Linked DNA regions of Homo sapiens: region 1 is linked to region 2. Evidence: promoter capture Hi-C in 16 types of primary human blood cells and fetal thymus (Javierre and others, 2016). All regions are on one chromosome and are shown on one strand. The core of a region is centred on a gene start or on the middle of the fragment in contact, and the rest is flanking DNA. Distances in the headings are between cores, read along the strand shown.

Region 1 (4,358 bases), core at 719-3,218, 1.5 Mb after region 2:
ACAAAACAGAGAATTAGCAATGTTTCAAGCAAAAAGTTCATAAGCCCTGCCTAGTTTTGAGAATGACAATAAAGAAAGCTCACAGGTAGCTAAACATTTAAATTATTTGGTGTCAAGGCATAGAATAAGTTATATTAATTCAGTTAGAGGCAAGATTATTAAATGAATACAAGCTTTTCTCTTGTCTCATGAAAGCAGTTTACTTTGATTGTCTCCTTTGCCCAGGTTTAAAGACAAGGCTTTGGTTAACTTGAGTTTGATATTAGATACTGGCAGGAATTGGTGCCATCTCTAGATGAGCTATGCATACCCAAGAATAAAAGCCCTGTAATTTAACAGCACATGGATTAGTTAATAGCACCTGATAAGGAACTTGTCAGAGGGCTGGAGGTAGTGATACTGGAGTTCATGACCTGACTGGAAGCTGTAAAAAGATTTTATAACATTGCAGTGATTAATTTTTATAGCTTTGATAAACTCCAGCAACAAGCAAGAGATTTAAACTAGGATTCAATTCTAAGGGCATTTGTCAAAGGGGTTAAAGGCCCAAAATATTTGATCAGTGTGGAACTACAGGTTATTGTAAGCAATAGTTACTTATTTATCCAAAGTTAAATATCCTTGGCACTGTGATTACCTCTCCATATGGGAACTCCACTTAAATAACCTGAAAGTTGAGTTTGATGAAGAAAAACATAATACTTGAATTTAATCAGATGCAGGAAAAGTGTATTTAAGATTATGAGTGTAGCAGGGGAACTGAGAAAGTTTTCTGGTTACACTGAAAATTTAGAAACATCAAGAAAAACCAAGAGTATAGAATCAAGTTATATTGGAGAAAAACACAGCTTTTATAGACCTCTGAGACAAAACACTTTAGTATCAGGCCACAATAACACTCAGAACCAGAAGAGAAAATGTCACAGGAGCTGATGAAAAGGCTAAAGGACACAGTTATATGACTCTGAGAAGCAAGAGGCTTTTAAAAGAAATAGAATATGAAATCGAAAAGCAAAATTTTGGGTAATTTAGCAAATTAATACTGTAAGAAAATTTGGTTTGACATGGAGACTATTTTTAGAAAGTCTATTATATACAATTTTCTTTTAATTACAGCTAGCTTAATCACACATAAAATTCCTTTCATAAATTCCCCTTTATGAACCTTATCACAACTTACATATACCATCTACCACATGCTTGGACATTTTGACTTGTCCTATACTACCTCTTTCTTAAATAACCATTCATTTTCCTCTAGGACAAGAGTTTACTGTAGAATATCTTTTTATACAAAATTACTCTTTCTTTATATCCTTCCTTGCAAAAAAAAATACATTTTTTATCTAGAGATTTCTTTCTATCTCTTTTTTTTCCACTCATGGTTGCTTCATAATTTGAACCTCACCTTCAATGACTTCTGAATTTGACAAAAATTACTCCTTTTCCCAATAAAGAATATATTTTCCCTGGCACATTTTATATAAACCTAGGAGGCAAGAAATCCTGAACTTCCCAACAGACATTGGCATTCTGTAGATAAGAACCATTTCACAATTTTAAGGTTTTCAACTACACAAAAAGCTTGCTATTTAAAGCCATTTTAACCAGTTCAAAACCTACAAACAACAGTGGTTTACCTTAAAGTTAAATTGTAAAAGGCACTATATTATTTTCAAACTAACAAGTTCAGACTAGACTTACATGTTTAATTTATTCTTGCTCTTTTATTTATAAGCCAATCTGATAGCATGCTAGACACAGGACATGCCACAATACCTGTCTATACACACAAACACTTCAAACAAAGGGCCTATGCAGGATAACAGGATCCAAGTTATTTACAAAACTGGGACCTGTCTACCTGACCAAACTTTATTTGCCCCAATAGGCATGGAAGACAGGAAGAGGCAGGGAAGGGGATCCTGTAGCAGCCAATAAGGAAAGGAGGGGGCAAACTGTGTTACTGAAGGGGAGACCTGAGTCTCTGAGCTGCTGGAGAGCTCACCCAGCAGTGGAACACTGAAGAAAAATGTTCAGGCAGCCTCTAGTCTGCCACTGCAGGAAGCTGTTTGTCAGGTAAAGGATCTAAGATCCCTAGTAAACTTACTTGAGCAAAGCAGCTCATTGGGGCTAGTGGAAGAAGGTTAGCTCTAGAATTGATGGAGAGTTTTTTCTCTCTGTCAGTAGGGACAGTTAGGACAGTCTCATTGTCAACAGCCCTTTTGTTCATAGTAGGCACATTGATTCTGACCCAGGGGCCAGTCAGTTTGGGGCTCTCATCTGGGCATTCCAGACACTGATCTTGTGACACTTTCTTGGGATGGGTAACCCTGAGGAGGAAGAGGGCTTAAAGCTTATGCTAATAATTGCACTTTTTGGCTATTTCTTATGGTTTTGCCTCTTCTTCTCCTTTGTCACTTTTGTTCTTAACTCCAAAAACCGTCTTTAGGAGTTGGATTATGGGGGTGTGAGACCCCCTTGCTGCTGCTTTTTGTAGCATTTTCCTGATGTCAGGGGAAGATTGAGTAATAAAATGCATACCCAGGAGAGCCTGCCTTTCTGAGGAGTCTGGATCTGTGTTAGTATATTTCTTGAGTGCCTCAACCAAACGACCCTGAAACAGAGTGGGACTTTCATATTTTCCCTGAGTTATTTCTCTAACCTTGTCATAACTCATTGGCTAAACCACACCCGTTTCCCACTGCATTTCTTCCATAGCACAGCAAGTAAATGATAATACTTGCAAGTCATGACAAGTTAAATTAAAGAACATGGTCAACTTAAAAAACTCCTCTATAAACTTTTCTGGATCCTCTGAAAACTAGCCAAATTTTTTTTGTTAAATACAGCCAAATCAGACATAGAAAATAGCACATGTACTCTAAGTGCTCCCCAATTTTCATCAGCTACTTCTTGCAAGGGACACAGGTTTGACTTTTAGGGGCTGATATGGGGTCCACTTCTGGAGGTATTGGTTGGGCTTACTCTTTTGAGCAGTAAGAAGTATAGGCTGGAGCTAGCTGGATAAGGGGGAGAGGTGCCTGATGACCTTGGGATGGAATCCTTTGTTAGAGAACTGGCAGGACCCTCCTCAGAACGGCGGCACTGAGGAGGCTCCAGGGAGGGCATAGGCCTTCTGTGAGAGCAGCTAGGAATGCCACTTGATGCAGGGCAGGCCAGTCCCAAAACTGGGGCTTAGCCTGGGAAAATTGTTGGCTTCACTCAGGAAAGGTTTCAAGAATGAGCTGGTGGTAGAAAAAAATGGCTTTTATTGGGGCAACAGTGTTACAGCTCTGTGACTGCCTCTGCAGAACCAGGATACCTCAAAGGCCGTGTGTTTGAGTAGCAGTTCAGAGGCAGTTCTCCAGTTATATTTATACATACTTTTAATTACATGCAAATTAAGGGGTGGGTTACTCAGAAATTTCTAGAACAGAAGTGGTAACTTCCAGGTGTTGGCACGGCAGTCGTAAACCATCATGGTGCTGGTAGGCATGCCTCTTCCCTGTTTCAACCAGTCTTCAATCTGGCCCGAAGTGAAATCCCACCTGCCACCTCACCTCCAGTGGTGTCTGCAGTGACATTTTGTTCCCTCTTTCAAAATCGTTTTCAATGGGGTCTCTTGTGGGTGGGGCATTAAGCACAAGTGCTCAGCCAACTGCACTGAACCAGAAATTCTGCATCTGTGCTGACCAGAGATGCTTTCTGGAAAACCAAGTGTATAAACCATGGGGACCATGGGACACATGTCACGCTGCTCTCTCACACCTTCATGTATGTCCTTTAGTGTTGCGCAGCAGCAGCCTCTAAGGGAAGCAGCCCTGAGATGTACTTTTAAAACATTTTTACTATTTCATTTGATTTTTTACAACTATGAGTCACAGATGTTTTACTGGGGAAAAAAATATGTAGAAGACATGGCTGGATGTGTGTTATGAGAAAGAGGTCAAGTGCAAATGAGAAAAAGAGGAACTCATGAACCTCTTCTGCCTTTTGGTGAGTGGCCAGTCATTTGAAACTGTGAAGCAGAAGGTAGTGAGGGGCAGTTGTTCCTGTGGGTGCCAAGGGGAAACTTCCTCTTTGCCCTTGGAAGGGTCACTGAAAATCAACTGACAAGAGACAGATTAATTGGAGAAAAGGCACACATATTTATTAATGTGCACAGGAATCTTACAAAGATCTCCAAGAAATGGTAAGGAGGTTGAGACTTTTACACTATCTTTTTAAAGGCTTTTGATATAGGGTCTCACTCTCTTGCCCAGGCTGTAGTGCAATGGCAGGATCATGGTTACTGTAGCCTCAAACTCCTGGGCTCAAGCAGTCCTTCAAGCAATCCCGCCTCAGCCTCCTGAGTA
Region 2 (4,385 bases), core at 1,469-3,968:
TCAGGTGTTAAATAGTAAACTCTACTAAAACTTTGTGGGTTTTCTAGACTAAAACAGTGTGGGTTAAATTTTATATTTGGATTATCAGTAAATCTAACAGCATTTATAATGCTTTGAACAAAATTTGAAGACATACTATAGAAGCTGAAGTAGGTGGAATTAAAACTATCTTCTACTCTGCTGTTAAAGAAAAGCATTGCATCGAAAACTCTAAAAGGACTCATCACTTTCTTGGGATTGAGATACGTAATCCTATTAGAATTCAGTCCAGATAATACAAAAGCAACTGAAGAACTTAAGTGTAGATTTCTGTGCCCCACCTATTGAAACAGAATCTATGGGGATGAGCATTAGTATGAGATCCTGTAGGTGATTTGAAGGAGGTGTTTTTCCCTATAAAGAGGTAATCTTTTTACTTTTAATCTATTTACTGTAGACAGTAACTGTGAAAAAAAAATCATTTTGGATACCTCAAACCAATTAATAGTGGACTTAGTTTATTTTATTCTGGCTTAGTTGAGAATACTTTTGAATTTCTGTTGAGTATATGAAAATCATATTAAAATGATTCAAAACATTTTCTTTCCACAGAACCACATATTCTTCTCTTTAGACGACCTCTTCCAAAAGATCAACAAAAATGAAGTTTATCTGGGGATCGTCAAATCTTTTTCAAATTTAATGTATATGTGTATATAAGGTAGTATTCAGTGAATACTTGAGAAATGTACAAATCTTTCATCCATACCTGTGCATGAGCTGTATTCTTCACAGCAACAGAGCTCAGTTAAATGCAACTGCAAGTAGGTTACTGTAAGATGTTTAAGATAAAAGTTCTTCCAGTCAGTTTTTCTCTTAAGTGCCTGTTTGAGTTTACTGAAACAGTTTACTTTTGTTCAATAAAGTTTGTATGTTGCATTTATCACTGTTTCAAGTTTTTGAGGTATATTTTCTTAATTTGTGACTATTGAAATTTGTGACTATTGAAATTGATTTCAGTGTTATAGTTTTAGCTCTGAGGAAGTTAACTTACCTTAAAGATGATGTTAAATGAGTTTAAAATAGTGCGGTATGATCTGGATACCATTTAATTCACTTAATGAAGAAATTAATTACCAGGGATATGTTTAAACTAAAGCCAAAGTAGATTTTACCTCTTGAATTCCTGGAGAATTGTCTAGAACAGGAAAGCCCAAATTAATACTATCTGGGCTACTTCACTGGCCACTGGTGGTCTTGGGAGAAACCTCTTTTTTATCCTCTTCTACATTTCCAAAGTAGGGATAATGTTTCCTATAAAGTATCACCACATTTTTAAAAGTTCAAAAACACTGTAAAACACCTTTGCCTTTTTAGCTGCTAGGAAAGTGTTTTGGAGTTATTCTAATTAATTGCTATGCTATAGAAACATCTTAAATGAGCAGCCAGCATACATCAGGTCCATTGGTTAAGAAAGGGTGTCTTTACACATGAGGGCAATAAATTTTGAAGGTTGTGATTAGCAGCATCCTAAAATCTACTGCCACTACCATAGGTTGTGTCCAGGGTAACCAACAGAAACATGACAAAATCAAGTAAACTTCATTACACTTCCGGGTAGACCCAATAGTGCTGAAAGGAAGGCGACAGCTACCCCTAAACTTCCAGCATAAATTCCTGCCAGACCAGACCCTAAGGATCACTTCTGCTAGAGGCTGTGTAGTGAACTGAGACCCACCAGGACAGAAATCTGAAAAAACTGGAGCTGCACCTGCCTTACTTGCTTGAAATACTTCGTATTCAATGGTAGAGTTAACGTCTGTGCAAGGGACAGAGGAAACCTACAATTTGCCTCAACCTAATCCCCATTCCTCAAATAGCCTGTTTTGCTGACATTTTCTGTTCCTTAAATCCACTTGCACTTTCCTCCAAGCCTTTGAGTGAGAGGAAAGTTCCTCCTCCATCTATTGAAATCCACTCTGCATTCTTCCCTGTACTTTTGGTCAACCTCCTATCCCTGCCGCACTTTATACATTTCTCTCAATATTTAACGAATTTGCTCTGTGTAGAACTTTTTTTTTCTCGTGAAAATTATACTATTCCATCTCTTGACCATATCTTAGCACTTTTTTTAATTTTTGAAAGAAACCGAGCGATTTTTAAATTATTTTCTGTGGCTACTTCCAAACTTAAGGTTTCTGGAAATTTAGGATACCATCAAGAGTCTTGTAGGCTTTCCAGGTTTGTAGGACCTACAGGGTATGCAATTCCTGTAAGTCACCAATCTTGGGGAAATTTTAGGGAAATGCAGTGGCGGGGGTGAGAGTAATCTCGGCCTCCTCAGTTTCCTTATTAGTAAATCTTTCTCTTCAGGTGACTGCTCAAAGGTCACCTCAGCGAGAGGCCTTTCCAGACTACCCCATCCCGTCCTAACGCTAGACTCGTGAGGCCCAGGGGAGAAAAGTAAATCACGGCCTAACTCTTGTTTATAGTCGCTACTGCCTTGGTGGAGACTATCTCCGATATCCCAGCACTAAAAGGCAGATCCAAGACTCCCGCAAGCTACGGTGGGTCCCCAGCCCAGAGGACTCCTGGGGGTCCCCATTTTCCGCAAGCGCCCCACTGCCTCCACGTGCTGCCCGCGCAGGTCCAGTGCCGCCGCCGCGTACTTCCGGCCGGAAGAAAGGGCGGGCTCTGTCGCTTTGCTGTGACGCACTTCCTGGCGTCGCCTGCGGGGGCGGAAACGCTTTGTCTGTCCGGCAAGCCGACGGCCCGCTGCTGGCCTCCGTGACGCGGCCTCCTCCGCGCCTCGCGGCATGGCGTCGGAGGGGCCGCGGGAGCCCGAAAGCGAGGTAAGGGCCGACGGGGGCTCTCTCGGCAGCCTCAGTCCGTCCGCCTGCCTCGCACTGGGGGCTCGGCCGGGCGGTGACGGGGCTGGTCCAGCGGGCGTGGGTCGGATGCTGGTGACGGCACGGGAGCGCCCTACCGGGTGGCCGCGATCTTCGCGCCCCGCCTCGGGTCCGCCTTGGGGTGGCGGTCAGCGGCTACAGACCCCGCCCACAGTTAGCGCCGCGTCTGTGGTGCGATGTCACCCAGCGCAGTGACTGCGGCCCAGCCCGGCGCTCCCCGCAGTCGGGGCGGGGGGACTCTGGCGAGCTTCCCGCGCTCTTGGGAACGGATAGATTGTTTTAAAGGATCCTGCGTTTTTCTGAACGTCATTCTCCGCTCTACGTACTCAGCATTACCACTAGATGGAGCCCTGGCGATCGCTTGCATCATTTTTAGACCCATAAAATTCTCGGTGAAAGTAAATCTCTTACTACGTCACTAAAAACTAAAGAAAGAAATCTTAGTGAATTGAAATTTCAAAGGCTCGTGGTGATAATATTTTCTAGCAAAGCAAGGTTTGGTATTTCAATAAAGCAAGACTTAGTGGTTCATGAGTAAAATGCATATGCTTTTGTGCAACTTTTTCAAGAAAATGTAATGGAAATAAACGTCTGCAGTGTGTTTTGGGTGCTGTAGTTAAACAGTCCACGTGTATTTGACTGCAGTAGTTGTACTGTGTGCAGTTCTATTATTTCTAAGTGAATCTGTGGTAAAAACACCCTTATTCCAAGATCTAAACTATATAATCTGTGTTGTTTTATTTCCACTTGAATTCGTTGTCATTTTTCACTTTTAATGTTTGAACTACTGCCTTTTCTACAAAAAAAAAAGCATTGGGGAGAAATCGTTAGCAAGCAGGTTCTTGTCTTTACGAGGCAGAAGTTTTTAAACAACATCGGGAACATTTCTGGGGCTATTAGGAACACCTCTTGGGTCTTTTTGTTTGTTTATATTTGCTTGATCTCTGAATGTTTGTGGCCAAAACCTCATATTTTTCCTCAGGGCATCAAGTTATCAGCAGATGTCAAACCATTTGTCCCCAGATTTGCCGGGCTCAATGTGGCATGGTTAGAGTCCTCAGAAGCATGTGTCTTCCCCAGCTCTGCAGCCACATACTATCCGTTTGTTCAGGAACCACCAGTGACAGAGTATGTATCTTTCTAAAAGTCTTACCTAGGGGCTTACATTTTGGATTTAATGGTGATTAGACTTTCAAATACTCAGCAGTTACTGCACTAAAGTTCTGCAGATGATGAGAGAATGCTCTTCAACCAAGAAGAGTCTGAGCCAGTAGCACAACTTAACTGTATCCTGTGCCAAAAACAGAAGCTTTAACTCCCCTTTTTTTTCTTCATACTCATTGTTATTTTCGGCAAAGAAATAGTAGAGACTGCATTGCATTTGTTAATAAGAAATGCAGTTTCAGGCCAGGCGCTGTGGCTCACGCCTGTAATCCCAGCACTTTGGGAGGCCGAGGTGGGTGGATCACCTGAGGTCAGGAGTTCAAGACCAGTGTG

Evidence for each region. Contacts are between HindIII fragments. The CHiCAGO score rates a contact against its expected background, and 5 or more counts as called.
Region 1: a fragment that was not itself captured here is called in contact with the fragment with the promoter of SECISBP2 in region 2 in 2 of 17 cell types (total B cells and monocytes); the score reaches 6.9 in total B cells.

What each region holds. Positions count from the first base shown.
Region 1 is chr9:90,766,548-90,770,905 of GRCh38, forward strand. No RefSeq gene overlaps it. Among named protein-coding and RNA genes, the nearest start is that of SYK, 33 kb to the right of the region's middle. The HindIII fragment of the contact is 772 bases long and covers 1,583-2,354 here.
Region 2 is chr9:89,315,782-89,320,166 of GRCh38, forward strand. SECISBP2 (SECIS binding protein 2) reads left to right here and starts at 2,719. Exons shown (of 17, transcript NM_024077.5): 1 at 2,719-2,831; 2 at 3,871-4,016. The coding sequence starts at 2,796. It overlaps CKS2 (CDC28 protein kinase regulatory subunit 2), which reads left to right. Exons shown (of 3, transcript NM_001827.3): 3 at 592-922. The coding sequence ends at 644. RefSeq lists an enhancer at 2,369-2,588 and a silencer at 2,759-3,078. The HindIII fragment of the contact is 8,029 bases long and covers 1-4,195 here.